4 separate regions of the Homo sapiens genome follow, and all the other regions are linked to region 4. Evidence: promoter capture Hi-C in 16 types of primary human blood cells and fetal thymus (Javierre and others, 2016). All regions are on one chromosome and are shown on one strand. Each heading gives the region's core, a stretch centred on a gene start or on the middle of the fragment in contact. The rest is flanking DNA. Distances are from core to core; before and after follow the strand shown. Region 1 overlaps BDP1 (BDP1 general transcription factor IIIB subunit). Region 2 overlaps LOC124901000 (a long non-coding RNA gene). Region 3 has its middle 96 kb from the start of MAP1B. Region 4 holds the start of CARTPT (CART prepropeptide).

Region 1 (3,741 bases), core at 12-2,511, 260 kb before region 4:
TAGACCAGTTTAAAATGTCAGAGTGAATTAAAATTTTTTTAAATTTTATATAGAAATTAATTATAAATTATTACTTTGTTACTTAGTAATTCAAATTAGGTTGACTAAGCTTTGTTCTGTAAGTTGGTTATTTGTTTTGAGGGGGGTAAGCCTATAATTATGTGCTGTAATGTGCCTAGGGACTTTATGTTTGAAAAAGATTAAGAGTCTATTAGAATTTACGTATATTTAAAAGATTTACTAAACAAATTTTTTTGTAACCTGTCATAATTATCATAAATCTCAAGTTACTAATTTTTTTTTTTTAATTACGAGATTGCAGTTTTGGATTTTCACCAGACTAGGTTTTAAAACTAGCATGTGTAACAGAAGATTCATGTGCCCTCTTTTTTCTTTTTTAATTTCAACAGTACTGAAAAGACTGGTGGTGACAATGATGTTGAAGAATCCAGTAGATCTTCCTCTACTGTTTCACAGAGAAGAAAGCGAATATCAAGTACTTCTAGCCTGGTTAAGTCTAGTGTCAGTGTTCCTTCAGAATCTCATCCCTTATCTACAATTAATCAAGAGGCTCCACAGCCAACTGCCACTTCAACAAAAGAGAAACAGCCATGCTCAGACAGATACCGAATATACAAAGCCCAGAAACTGAGGGAAATGTTAAAAGAAGAATTGAGAAAAGAGAAGGTAAGGGAGGAGAATCAGGATTTTGATGTTGCCTTCTATTTATGTTAGTAAGGAATCATTGGGAAGAAAAGCATTTGTAGCATTTTGATGGGGGAACAAAACCACATAACATCCCTTAGTCAATAGAACATCCCTTCTTGTTAATGGATTGATTGATACACCGTGGACTTAAATTACATTTTTCACTGATAGTAATTTTTACATTATTTATTTATGTTTTCACTGTTTTTGGTGAAGACCACAAATAAGTTTCATACGCATACACATAGATGCACATACACAAACATATTTATAAAATAAACCTTCAGTCTGATTTTTCACATAAAGATGTCCAAGTGATAAGTGATATATTTATTTGAATTAAGACAAGTATAGGCCGGGCGTGGTGGCTCATGCCTGTAATCCCAGCACTTTGGGAGGACTAGGGGGGCAGATCACTTGAGGTCAGGAGTTCAAGACCAGCCTGGCCAACATGGCAAAACCCTGTCTCTACTAAAAATACAAAAATTAGCTGGGCCTGGTGACGTGCATCTGTAATCCCAACTACTGGGGAGGCTGAGGCATGAGAATTGCTTGAACCTGGGAGGTGGAAGTTGCAGTGAGCCGAGATTGTGCCTCTGCATTCCAGCCTGGGTGATAGAGTGAAACTGTCTCCAAAAAAAAGACGAATATAGTTGAGCAGAATGAATTGGTAATGTTTTCTAAATTGACTATGGAAAATTACAAGTGGGAAAAATTTGTGTTATGCATATATTAGAGTCCATGTTCTTTTTAATCTTGAGGATTGATTTCTTTTCTAGAAGGGCAGGTAACAGCAGTAGAGCATGCTGGCCCTGGAGTTAAATACTTAGGGATTGAATCTCAGCTTCATTTCTTTACTAGCTTTGTGACCTTGGGTAATTTAATTAATCTATTTCCTCATCTGTAAAATAGACCAATAATAGTTCAGGTTGAGCATCCCTGAAATTGAAAATGCTCCAAAGTCTAAAATGTTTTGAGTGCCAAAGTGATGCTCCAGGGAAATGCTCATTGGAGCATATTGGATTTCAAATTTTCAGGTTAGAGATGCTCAGCCAGCATGTATTCTGCAAGTATTCAAAAATGTGAAAAAATCCAAAATGTGAATCATTTCTGGTCTCAAGTATTTCAGATAAGAGATGCTCAACCTCTATCTAGCTCATTAGAGGGTTGTGAAGATTAAATGAGTCAATACATGTAAAACACACTTAAACTGGTGTCTTGGGCCTTGTGCAGTGGCTCACGCCTGTAATCCCAGCACTTTGGGAGGCCGAGGTGGGCGGATCACCTGAGGTCAGGAGTTCGAGACCAGCCTGGCCAACATGGTGAAACCCCGTCTCTACTAAAAATACAAACATTATCTGGTTGTGGTGGTGCACGCCTGTAATCCCAGCTACTCAGGAGGCTGAGACAGGAGAATCGCTTGAACCTGGGAGGCAGAGGTTGCGGTGAGCCAAAATCGTGCCATTGCACTCCAGCATGAGTGACAGAGCGAGACTCCGTCTCAAAAAAAACCAACCAAACAAAAAAACTAGTGTCATGAAAATAGTAAGTGTCCAACCAGTGTCAGCTTCTGTTATGAATTATAAAATGCCTCTTAGTTTTTTTTAAATTAAGGGAAGGCATTTTGCTTGGTGCTTTATATCTGTTATCTTATGTAATTATATCAACTATGTGAAGTAGATATCACTGTTTCACACAGGAGAAAACAAGCTTTCAATTTATGTCTTCTAAAATGTAAGCCTCACAACAATTGCTTGAACCTGGAAGGCGGAGGTTGCAGTGAGCTGAAATTGTGCTACTGCATTCCAGCCTGGGCGACAGATCAAAGCCTCTAAAAATGTTTTATGGGTTGGGAATTGGGGGTGGGGGGATTAAAAAAAAGTTCTGTATTTTACAGAAACTGCTTATTTGCTTATTTAATTTATTTTGGGGAATTAAAGATTAAACATTTGCTTCAAGAATTTTACAAAATACACAGAATTTCAAGTCACTACAGGGTAAAAAAAAAGCTGTGTAAGCATAAATTCTCAGTGAGCTATTAAGATGTTTAGTTAGAAGGCATCAGTAAGCATTTTATACATTGAGCTTTATTAGTTTTATTCTTTGGTTATTTATTTAGTTTTGAGACAAGGTCTCACTGTCACCCAGGATGGAGTGCGCTAGTATAATTGCAGTTCACTGCAGCCTCAACCTCCCAGGCTCAAGTGATCCTCCCACCTCAGCCTCCCAAGTAGCTGTGGCTATAGGCATATGCCACCACATCCAGCTAATTTTTTTGTATTTTTTTGTAGAGATAGGGTCTCATTTATGTTGCCCAGGCTGGTAACTCCTGAGCTCAAGCGATCCTCCTGCCTCAGCCTCCCAAAGTGCTGGGATTAGAGAAATAAGCCACTGTGCCTGGCCACATTGAGCTTTTATCTAGTCCTAGTCACTTTAATTGTTAAAATCTAAATACTGCCTGGGTGTGTGGTTCACTCCAGTGCTTTAGGAGTGTGAGGCAGGAGGATCACTTGAGCCCAGGAATTTGAGAGCAGCCTTGGCAACGTAGGGAGACTCCATCTCTACCAAAAAAAAAAAAACCCCACAAAATTAGCCAGGTGTTAGGCAAGCATCTGTAGTCCCAGCTACTTGGGAGGCTGAGGTGGGAGGACTGCTTGAGCTCAGGAGTTCAAGGCTGCAGTGAGCTATGATTGCGCCACTGCACTTTAGCCTGGATGACAGAGCAAAACCCCATCTCAAAAGTAGATAAATAAAAACTAAAAGCTATTGAGGGTAATGTGCTACAACTTTTTAATATTCCATCTACAAAATTACATAATTGGGGTGAGAATAATATTAAAGCACTTACAGTGAACGCAACAGTGGACTGTATATTTGCATATAGTACATCTGAAATTCTTTAATATTTATAAAAGTGGATCTGTGTGTTTATGTATACAGAAACAATGGAAAAACAAATATGCTATAAATGAAAGTCAGAGGCCACCAGATCGTTCAAAAATGACTATGAGAGACTTCATATATTATCTACCA
Region 2 (3,526 bases), core at 915-3,414, 260 kb after region 4:
TCTTTATCACTTTACTACCTATTAATATATAGCCCCTACACATTAACTTGTTCAATTTTTCCAGTTTTTCATTTTTTGAAATGAAATCCACATGACTTATCTCCTTCACTTAGTATATTTTTGAGATACAACCACATGAATATGCACAGATATCGCTCACTTAATTTAACAGCCATTTATTATTCCATTGTATGAACAAACCTCAATTTTTATATCTGTTGTACTGTTGATGAGCATTTGAGCTGTGTACATTTGCACAAGTAAATGTGTATATATTCAAGAATGTTTGAACATATGTATGTATATACATATATATACATATATTATATATAATATATGTACGTATATATACAGTTGACCCTTGAACAACATGGGTTTGAACTGTGTGGGTCCACTGAGAGAACTTTTGAGTGTGCAAAACTTGTTTATTATTGTGTACATATATTCGAGTTTTTTTCAACCAAATATGGATCAAAAATACAGTATTTGCTGGATGCAAAACCCATGTTTATGAAAAGCCAGATTTTCCTATACGTGGGTTCTGCAGGGCCAACTACAGGACTTGAATATGTGTGCATTTTGGGATATTCTGGTGTCCTGGAACCAATCCCCTGCATATATCAAGAGATGACTCTATGAACGCATATATTATAGAGAAATTGCTGAATCATAGGGTATGCATATGTTCAGTTCTGTAAGGTACTGCCAATTGTTTCCCAAAGTGTTTGTGATAACTCATACTCCTACTAATAGCATGAAAGTTTTTGTTTCATAACAACAATACTTAACATTGTCTGATCTTTAAAGTTTTGTCAAACTGGAAGTTGTGAAATGGTATCTCACTGTAGTTTTAATTTTCACTTCTGTGAATACAAAAGTTTGATAATTTTTTCGTTGTTTATCAGCCTTAGTATTTTTTTGTGAAATTTTTCATAATTTTTCCCATTTTATTGAATTGGCAATCTCTGTATTATTAATTTGTAGGAATTTTGTATACATTCTAAATACTAAATCTTTGTTTATATTAGTTGCAAATATCTTGTCACAATTTGTGGCTTGTCTTCATTGTCTTTATAGTGTTTTTTAGAAAAAAAATTTTCAATTTTCATATATTGTTTTATCAATCTTCTCCTTTATGGATTATACTTTGTATATTTATATTTTTAAATTTTTATTTTTAATTGACAAATAACAATTATATGTACTTATGAGGTACAATGTGATGTTTTGATATGCTTACAATGTGGATTGATTAAATCAGGACAATTAACAAATCCATCGCTACATACTTATCACTTTTTGTGGTGAAAACATTTAAAATCTCTTTTAGCAATTTTGAAATACACAATGCATTATTATTTATCATAGTCACGATTCTGTTTAATAGATCACTAAAGCTTATTCCTCTTGTCTGACTGAAACTGTTGTTCATCACATTTAAGATGTTGAAAAGGAGTAGTAAAAGCAGATATTTTTCGATGTTTCCTGATCTCAAGCATTTTTACCATTAAGTATGTTGTTTACTGTTACTTTTCTTTCACTTATCATGTTAAGGAAATTTCTTTTTATTCTAAGTTTCATAAGAGTTATATTTTTGTTAAATCCGAAAGAATGATATATTTTATCAAATGCTCTTTCTGCGTCTCTTCTGTCGACCATGTGTTTACTCTTATAATTTATGACTATGATAGATTGTACTTACTAACTTTTAAAGGTTCAACCAGCCTTACATTCTTAGGATATACCCAATTTGATCTTGACGTTTCATCTGTCTTTACACATCGCTGAATTCATTTTGTTAATATTTTGTTTAGGATTCTTGCATCTACTTTTTAAGTGAGAATGGCCTGATATCTGCCTTTTTATTCTTATCTGAATATGTTATGATGGATATTCTGGATTCATAGAATGATTTGGAATATGTCCTCTTTTTATTGTTTTTTTTTTACAGCTTTATAGAGGTATAATCTATATAAAGCTAACATCCCCCTTTTTTTGCCAGAAGACAATGAAGAAAACATCTACCTTTTTTTAAGCGTACAGTTTGATGTGTTTTGGAAAAATGTATGCCTTATGCAGCTATCACCATGAGTTTTACAATACTATTATCACTCTGAAAAATTGTGGACAATTACAGTTGGATCTTTTTTAAAAAATCCAGTGTATCAATCTATGTCTTTTGATTAAAGTATTTAGTGCAGTCACATTTAGTGTAATAATTGATATGTTTGGATTTGTTTATGACTTTTTGCTATTTTATATTTGTCTAATCTCTCATTTTTCTTCCATAACTGCTTTATTTCTTACTTTGCACTACATAAATATCTTTTATTGTACTATTTTAACTCCTCTATTAACTTTTAGCTATATTTCTTTGAATTATTTTTGGTGATTATTCTGGGGATTAATATATGTGTCTTTATTTTATTATAGTCTACTTTAAGTAGCCTTATTTTCAATAAGAGATAATATGTTTGCCCCAATATAGCTTCATTACATTCCTCTTCTTTGTAATATTATTGTCATATATGTTTTCCCTTCAGCCTGAAGGACCTCCTTCAACATTTCTCATAGTGCATGTCTGCCAGGATTGATTTCCTCACATTTTGTTTATCTTGAAATTTTCTTATTTTGCTTTCATTTTGAGGAATAACTTTATTGACTATAAAATTCTTAGTTTACAGTATTTTTTCTTTATGCACTTTGAAAATGTTTGTGCAACGTATTTTGACGTCCATTTTGTATGGCAAGAAGCCAGCCATTAATTGCATCATTGTTCCCCTATATGAAATGGTCATTTTTCTTGTTGCTTTGAAGATTTTTCTCATTAGCTTTCAGTAATTTGAATATGATGCATCTAGATATGGTTTTCTTTGTGTCTATACTACTGGGATACATTGAGCATCTTGGACCTGGAAGTTAATGTTTTCACCAAGCTTGGGAAACTTTGTGTTATTATTTCTTCATATACTTTCCTGCTTCTTTCTCTCTGTTCTTCTGGAACTCCATTTAGACATATGATAAAATGGTTCATATTTCCCAGTAGATCTCTCAGTCTCTTCATTTTTCTTCCATCTTTTTTCACTGTGTTCTATGTTCAAGGTCACTGATCCTTTCCTCTGCTATCTCAAATCTGCTATTGAGGCCATTTAGTAAATTTTCTTTATTTTAGTTAGTGTATCTTTCAGTTTTAGAATTTCCATTTGATTCATTTTTATAGTTTTCATGTATCTGTTAGGGTCCCTATGTGTTCACTCATTATTAGTATATTTTCCTTTATTTTAAAGATATAATTTATTTTAATTTGTTGAATATATTTATAGTAGCTACTTTCATATCTTTGTATGCTAAATTCAACATCTGTGCCTGCTTAGAATCAGTTTCTATTGACTTCCTTTTTTCGTGAGTATGAGTAACACTTTCCTATTCTTTGCCTGTCTAGTAATTTTTGGTTAAAACCTGGGTATTGTAGGTAATACACAATAGCAATTCTGGATTTGGGGTCTTGGGGGGGTAATTGTTTTCT
Region 3 (3,698 bases), core at 418-2,917, 290 kb after region 4:
TAGAAATTTTAACTTTGGAAAAAAATAATGCTTGATGTATGCAGGGTTTACAACTTAGTAAACATTTTCACAAAGTTTGTCGTCACCACCAGTCTGTGAGCCTAGCTGAGCAAGCATTTTGCTTAGGAGCAAGGAAACGAATCCCAATGGCTTCAATGTCCTTCCCAGGCTGTCCACCCCGGGTTCCTCTGGCTCTCCACTTTGCGTGTTTCACCCTAGCAGTGTCGTCCTCCTTTCCTGGAACCCTTCCCTGGACACCTGCGCCAGGGCACTATTAAGTCAAAAGTAATAACACTGATGTGCTATAGGTGACTTCTCCGTGAACATACGCTTGAGGGCTGGACAGCCCAGTTTGACTCCTGGCTTAGTCACTTAATAGTAGTGTGGCCTCTCTGGGCCTCAATTTACAGATCTGCCACATGGGGGTAATAGTTCTACCTACACCTTAGGGTTATTTGTGATAATTAAATGAGTTCATTTACATAAAGCATTTAAACAAATACATAATATGCATTACCCAACCTATCCAGAACAAATGTGAATTCAGAAGTAGTTAGGAAAAATATATAAATGATTTGAGAGTACAAACTTGAATAGGATAATGCATCCCTGCTCTTCATAGAATATTTTAGTGCTTCTGTCCTAGTCCTACTTGATTACTAAATAGGTTTTATTCCAACTTAAAATTATTTACTTATATTTTTAAAAGTTGGGTTTATGGCCCAATAAGCTAATCATGTTTGAGTGCCAGCAAACTGGTACAGTCTGTTCCTGCTTTTAATTTATGATGTGGTTTGAGTCCCTGTGTTTGCAAAAATTTGGGAACATTGTTAATGACAATGTAATAAAAGATTTTAGTAAACAAATTTTAAGTACACAAATGAGGGCTGTGCCGCACGCAGCCTCATGCTGACTTCCTTGCCTGGTGAAGCGTCCTGCTTTAAGAAAGCAAAGTTGCCATTTTTTTACATTATAACAAGACCCTTAGTTAATGACAACTGTATGATGTTTATAGGAAGCCGCAGAACAATCCTGTGTTCTACTGGCAGCTGGTGGTTGGAGTAGCAATTGGGAAGATGTCAAAAATTCACACTTGGTTTTTAGCAAATAAATGTTTCAATGTTACTTGATGCAAAACCCTCTATTTTTCTTACAGTATTTTGGAATTGGCTGGAAAATGAGGAAGAAAGGGTGAACTGCTCGGGGGGAGCCCTCGAGAGGATCTTCCTTTTTTGTGCACTCTGTATTATTAAAGCAGCCCCACAGCGATTGTGCCTTGTCTCCCCTCTCTGTCCTCTTCTGATCATTTCTATTTATGAACATAATTTTACGTAATTTTAGTCATAATGTGGATATTGTTTTGTATTCTTAATTTTTCACCTATCATAAGCAATGCAAAAACATTTCTGCAAAGTCTCCACTTTTCTTCCTTAAAGTTGTGTGTTATTTTCTCTTATAAATTCAGCACTAGTTTATTTGCATCCTTGAACATTTTCCAGTATTTTTCTGTAATTATCTTTTTACATGTAGTTTTTGTCTTTTTTTTCTTCTTTTGAGTTGCTGTCCTGAGACTGTTGCCCAAGGTTGGGATTGAGGAATCAAAGAATGTGAACACTTCTGTTACATCGTACTGTTGGGACTTCCAAAAAAATGTGAACTAACTTATCATTGTGGAAGTGATTCTTTTTAAGGGAAGATAAAAGACAATTCTATATTTTTGAGAAAAGAGAGACAGGGCAAGAGAAGTATCAAAAGGAAAGAAAAGATGAGGAATAGCATTAAGGGCCCATTACAAATAGGATATAAAAAAAAAATCCTGAAACCCATGAGATGAGACAAGAGGGGATGTGGAAGAGAAGAGAACACCTCTTTTTTTTTTTTTTTTTTCCTCAAGACGGAGTTTCGCTCTTATTGCCCAGGCTGGAGTGCAATGGCGTGATCTCAGCTCACCACAACCTCTGGCTCCCAGGTTCAAGCGATTCTCCTGCCTCAGCCTCCTGAGTAGCTGGGATTACAGGCATGTACCAGCATGCTCGGCTAATTTTGTATTTTTAATAGAGACAGAGTTTCTCCACGTTGGTCAGGCTGGTCTTGAAATTCGGACCTCAGGTGATCTGCCTGCCTTGGCCTCCCAAAGTGCTGGGTGTGAGCCACCGCGCCCGGCCGAGAACACCTCTTTACCTTTTAAAAGGAGCTGGCTGATCCTTAAAGAATCCTCACCTGACTGCTTTTCTTTCTGAAAGCACGTAGGGAACATAGGCATGAACTCTTGCCATCTGCAAGGATCCCAAACTCAAGGGCATGTTGGATTTCAAAATGCAGGTCGCATGTTTATAACTTAAAATATAATTTCCCATGAGAAAAAAAGTAATAATAATGACATTTCACTTTTTAATCATTTTACAGTTTGGGGATATGGTACAGTTGTTCCAGTATAAATGGATATGTGGTTTCATTTGAGCCTCACAACAATTTTGGGCAGTAGGGTTGACTCTGTTTGGTTTGACACATACTAAGAAACTCAGAGCAAGAGACTTAGTATTGTCATAGCAATACATATGTGGAGTGCTTTTTTTATTTAAATGAAATTCACTGGTGGGAAACCAAAGCCCAGACTTTTCCAAAAATGGCATCTCCCTCCTCCTCCCCTCTTCCTCCTCTAACCCATGTCCTCTGGGCTAACCTTGCCTCTTTCCACATCAACACACTTGGCCACATTCCTGGTGTAGCACGTAAAAGGCTGTTTTACCCATGATTATTAATAATTTAGAAAAAGGGCAAGTTAGAAAAATATTTGCCTCCTAATTTCAAGATTTGAGGCAGTCTGTAGGCAATGATGTGAAATACATTATGCTAAGGTTATCTTTCAAGCCTTGGGCCTGTTTTGTTATACCGCTGATGCTCTTTTCCCTGACCCAGCTCCAAAGATATGAAATCAGATTGTCTGGAGTTGTGGTTCAAGGCTCTGTATTATAAAACAGACAAACAAAAACAAAAACAAAACTCTAACATGAAAGGAGACTTAAATGAAAAGATAAAGCATTTCTTATGTAAATAACAAGAAGACAACATAGAGGTGTCATTTCTCCCTAAATGAACTTTTATGTTAAATACTTCAAGATGATACTTGGAGAAAAAAAAAACTGTGAAGGGATTAGCTGATGCTAACGTTTGCTTGGGAAAATTAACAAGCATGAACAGGCTGGAATTTCTGAAAAAGAAAAGTAGTGGGGGGATTTGCCTTATGGGATTTTATAGCACGTTAGGAAGAAGCCAGCTCCTGCTGTCTTGTGGCTCTGGCACCTTCCTCACGCAGAGGCATAAGGTGACCTAAAGTCACTGTGCTTGTCTTCATCATGCCAGCACTGAGTTTTTGAGGAGATAAGTCTGGCTGTGTGCAAAGCAGGTGGAGCCAGACATAAGAGGAATGACTTCATTCTATAAGAACATTAGAGAGACTGTGGCTTGTAAGATTGAAGAAGACGTGTGTTGGTGGGGGTGTGGGGAAATGGCCACTCTCTTCTATCGGGAGTGGGTATTTATGCTTCAGATACACATGTATGAAGTATTATGTATATAAGAATCTTCTCGAAAATCTGCTAACCCTTCAACTCATTTCTTTCTTTCCTTCTGAACCCCCGTGTTATTCAAAAGCTTCCAATCCCCCAAATGTCTCAGTTTTCAGGAGCAGTGAGCTC
Region 4 (3,597 bases), core at 537-3,036:
TGCTTCCCAGTGAGTATTTGAGTACCAATTAAATACTTGATAGTTGAAGTAACCAGGCATATATTGTGTATTAAACTATCTTAATGACCCACATAATCTGCTATGCAATAAATTTGTGGGAGAAAAGTATTGATAGATGGTTTGGATTGAGTAGTCATAGATATTTACACTGAGATTTAAATAACAGAAGTAGTGAGCCTTTTGGAAATACAGGAAGACCTTTCAAGGAGGGGTAAGTGCAAAGACATCAAAGTATGAATGAGATTGGCCTGCTAGAGGACCAGAAAGAAGGCCATGTGAGGTTGGAGTGGAGGAGTCTGGGGCAGAGTGGTAGAACATGAGGTGGAGAGGGGTGAAGATCATATAATGCTTTGCAAGTCAGGATGAGGAATCTAGATTCAGTGCTTAGTAAGATTAGGAGTCATTAGTGTATTTTAAGGGGAAAAATACTCTGGTTGGTGGTGAACTATGGAGTAGAGGAAGGCAAGAGAAGATAGGGTGGGGATTAAGTGGTAGACATTAAGTTGACTGGGGCAGCTGTCTAGGACTGGGTTGTAGTAATGGGGATGGAGAAGAGTGGATGAATTTAGGAACAGTTGAGGGAAAGATGGTGTGGTGAAGGAAGCCAGGTGAGCAAGCAGGTCTAAGCGGGAAAGCATTGCTTTTCCTACAGGAATTTTCCTGTGCATTCAGGCTGTAAGGATCTCAACTTTTAAAAAAGCCACATTGTTCTCCCAAGTTGTTGGGGAGCTGGTTCACCATTGACTTCTGATCTCTGGAGATATTTTCATAATCATGGAGCTGTCTTTCTTTTCACTCTTTTACTCTCTTTCTAGACAGGCTTCTTGGATACCAAGGGTTGGTGGTGGGTGGGGGGAGGTTCTGGGGATGGTTAAATTTGCCTGGGCAGCCTCAAAGTTCAAAAAGGAGGGACAGGGAAGCTTAGCTAAGAACCAGGAGTTTGACATACTTAATCTCTCATTTCATCCTACTGATGACTTTGTGAGGTATATCTTTTTAATCCTAGATCTACAAAAGAGAAAGCTGAGGCTTGGAGAGGTTCTTCATTTTGTTCAAAGTCATACAACTTTTACGTGGTGTAGCCAGGATGGGAACCAGAGCCTGGCTCTCTGCACTTCCAACACCACTGCTGAATCCGGGTTTGTCTGTTTTCCCTCTCTTCTTTTAACTATTGTCACACAGATTCCATCATAGAACCCATCACGTGGAGGGCCACTATTTCTCTTTCTTTTGTATAGTATGTTTGCTTCCCCTACCCCACAGAGTAAGGTGCTCAGCAAATGTGGCTGTCTGGAGGCAACACCCCCTTCTCACCGCCACACTTGGGGTTGGGGTGCGAGGCAAGGCAGGGCTGGCGAGGTGGATGTTGCAGCTGTCACCACTGCTAGGTGTTGGGAAACGACTCTCCTGCCTGTGCATTGACCCGAAGGCATTTTCCATTTCCTAGGCCCCTCCCGCTTCCCGTCCCTCACCTCTAGCCCCTCGGCTTCAGCTCAGGCCCCTCGGGGAGCATCCCTTGCCGTGAGACTGACAGCCTTTGGGGGCGCAGGGTCCTGTTCTCTGCGCTCTAGCCCATCTGTGCGCAGAGCCTCGTTCCCAGGCGCCTGGAACCCGGCGGGCATTGACGTCAAGCGCCGGCGGAGCGCTGCCTACAGACGGTTGACCCGGGCCCTCCTCCACACCCCCTTCCTTCTTCGCCTCCTCCCTCTTTCCTGCACGGGGGCTCGGGCTCACTATAAAAGGTGGGAGCGCGTGGTGCCCCAGCAACGACGAGTTTCAGAACGATGGAGAGCTCCCGCGTGAGGCTGCTGCCCCTCCTGGGCGCCGCCCTGCTGCTGATGCTACCTCTGTTGGGTACCCGTGCCCAGGAGGACGCCGAGCTCCAGCCCCGAGCCCTGGACATCTACTCTGCCGTGGATGATGCCTCCCACGAGAAGGAGCTGGTCGGTATTCCCCTCGCTCTCGACCCCCTTGAGCTGTCGCCTTGTCTCTTCTCTTGCACGCCTCCCTCCTCCCCCCACCCCCACTCCTATTCCCAGAGTCAGGGCGCGGGGAGCTGAGCGCAACGCCCAGGCACCCACTGCCATCCGAAGAGCGTCTCGAGCTCACGGGCTCCTGGCAGTCTGTTGAGCGAATCCCTCATCCCGGCCCCTCTGAGCAACAGGGACCCCAGCGGCTCAGAGACCCGCGGTCAGTACCTGGGACAGCGTCCGCTAAGTTTCCACCCCTCGACCATTCCCTGTGTCCGCGGAGTCCCACCGCAGAGTGCGTGTGGGTCCGGGGCTCCTTATAACTAGGGCTGGAAGTGCGCACCTGGGCTGGGCTCGCAGCCAAGGCGGCAACTTCAGGCTCCGAAGCGGTGTGTTGCAGATCGAAGCGCTGCAAGAAGTCTTGAAGAAGCTCAAGAGTAAACGTGTTCCCATCTATGAGAAGAAGTATGGCCAAGTCCCCATGGTAAGGTTTGTGGTCACTCCCTTCCCGTGTTTTTCCAAGAGAAAGTACACCGCCTTGAATCGTACACACAGTCTTCTCCGTAGGATGTGGCTAAATAACTTAGGTAATGGGCTTGCAGGATTCTGTGGGCTCCTTCTTCCTTCCCGGGTGAGGAAATGGGAAAGCAGGAACAGGGGTTGTAAGAAAGTGTAAGTCTATTGTTTGTTGCTCAGGAAAAAGGTCTGATTTTTTTCCCCTCTGAGAGGGCAAGAAAAGGAGCCAGGAAATGTGATGCTCCCCTTCCCACGCCCCCCAACCCTCGCCACTTAAAGGTGGAAGAAACTAGGATAAAACTAATAATGTAAGTTTCTTTAAAAAATGTACTCTCACTGAGGTTATAAGCACAAGGCTCCCTGTTTCAGATCTGACTGTACGTAGACCTCTTGTGATGGTGATGGGGTCCAATTGCCCCTTTCAAGAGACAGAAATTGCGTTGACTGTGAGACTTGCCTGTTGGGAACCTGGGTTTGTTCATACTCGATGACCACACATTTTGTTGTTTCAGTGTGACGCCGGTGAGCAGTGTGCAGTGAGGAAAGGGGCAAGGATCGGGAAGCTGTGTGACTGTCCCCGAGGAACCTCCTGCAATTCCTTCCTCCTGAAGTGCTTATGAAGGGGCGTCCATTCTCCTCCATACATCCCCATCCCTCTACTTTCCCCAGAGGACCACACCTTCCTCCCTGGAGTTTGGCTTAAGCAACAGATAAAGTTTTTATTTTCCTCTGAAGGGAAAGGGCTCTTTTCCTGCTGTTTCAAAAATAAAAGAACACATTAGATGTTACTGTGTGAAGAATAATGCCTTGTATGGTGTTGATACGTGTGTGAAGTATTCTTATTTTATTTGTCTGACAAACTCTTGTGTACCTTTGTGTAAAGAAGGGAAGCTTTGTTTGAAAATTGTATTTTTGTATGTGGCATGGCAGAATGAAAATTAGATCTAGCTAATCTCGGTAGATGTCATTACAACCTGGAAAATAAATCACCCTAAGTGACACAAATTGAAGCATGTACAAATTATACATAATAAAGTGTTTTTAATAATTGCCCATAGTGCACTGCTGTTTTCATATAAGTAATTTAAGT

Evidence for each region. The method cuts DNA at HindIII sites, captures the fragments that hold promoters and counts their contacts. A CHiCAGO score of 5 or more calls a contact.
Region 1: a contact is called between a fragment that was not itself captured here and the fragment with the promoter of CARTPT in region 4, in 1 of 17 cell types (endothelial precursors). The highest score is 7.4, in endothelial precursors.
Region 2: a fragment that was not itself captured here is called in contact with the fragment with the promoter of CARTPT in region 4 in 2 of 17 cell types (M2 macrophages and endothelial precursors); the score reaches 6.7 in M2 macrophages.
Region 3: a fragment that was not itself captured here is called in contact with the fragment with the promoter of CARTPT in region 4 in 2 of 17 cell types (M1 macrophages and M2 macrophages); the score reaches 6.3 in M1 macrophages.

Annotation. Positions count from the first base shown.
Region 1 is chr5:71,458,169-71,461,909 of GRCh38, forward strand. BDP1 (BDP1 general transcription factor IIIB subunit) reads left to right here. Exons shown (of 39, transcript NM_018429.3): 2 at 411-687; 3 at 3,649-3,741. Among named protein-coding and RNA genes, the nearest start is that of BDP1, 4.4 kb to the left of the region's middle. The HindIII fragment of the contact is 2,309 bases long and covers 108-2,416 here.
Region 2 is chr5:71,979,488-71,983,013 of GRCh38, forward strand. All of the region lies in intron 1 of LOC124901000 (a long non-coding RNA gene), which reads left to right. Among named protein-coding and RNA genes, the nearest start is that of MAP1B, 130 kb to the right of the region's middle. The HindIII fragment of the contact is 1,539 bases long and covers 1,396-2,934 here.
Region 3 is chr5:72,009,791-72,013,488 of GRCh38, forward strand. No RefSeq gene overlaps it. Among named protein-coding and RNA genes, the nearest start is that of MAP1B, 96 kb to the right of the region's middle. The HindIII fragment of the contact is 3,969 bases long and covers 1-3,652 here.
Region 4 is chr5:71,717,489-71,721,085 of GRCh38, forward strand. CARTPT (CART prepropeptide) reads left to right here and starts at 1,787. Exons shown (of 3, transcript NM_004291.4): 1 at 1,787-1,964; 2 at 2,392-2,475; 3 at 3,020-3,557. The coding sequence starts at 1,806. The coding sequence ends at 3,127. RefSeq lists an enhancer at 1,925-2,811. The HindIII fragment of the contact is 2,457 bases long and covers 940-3,396 here.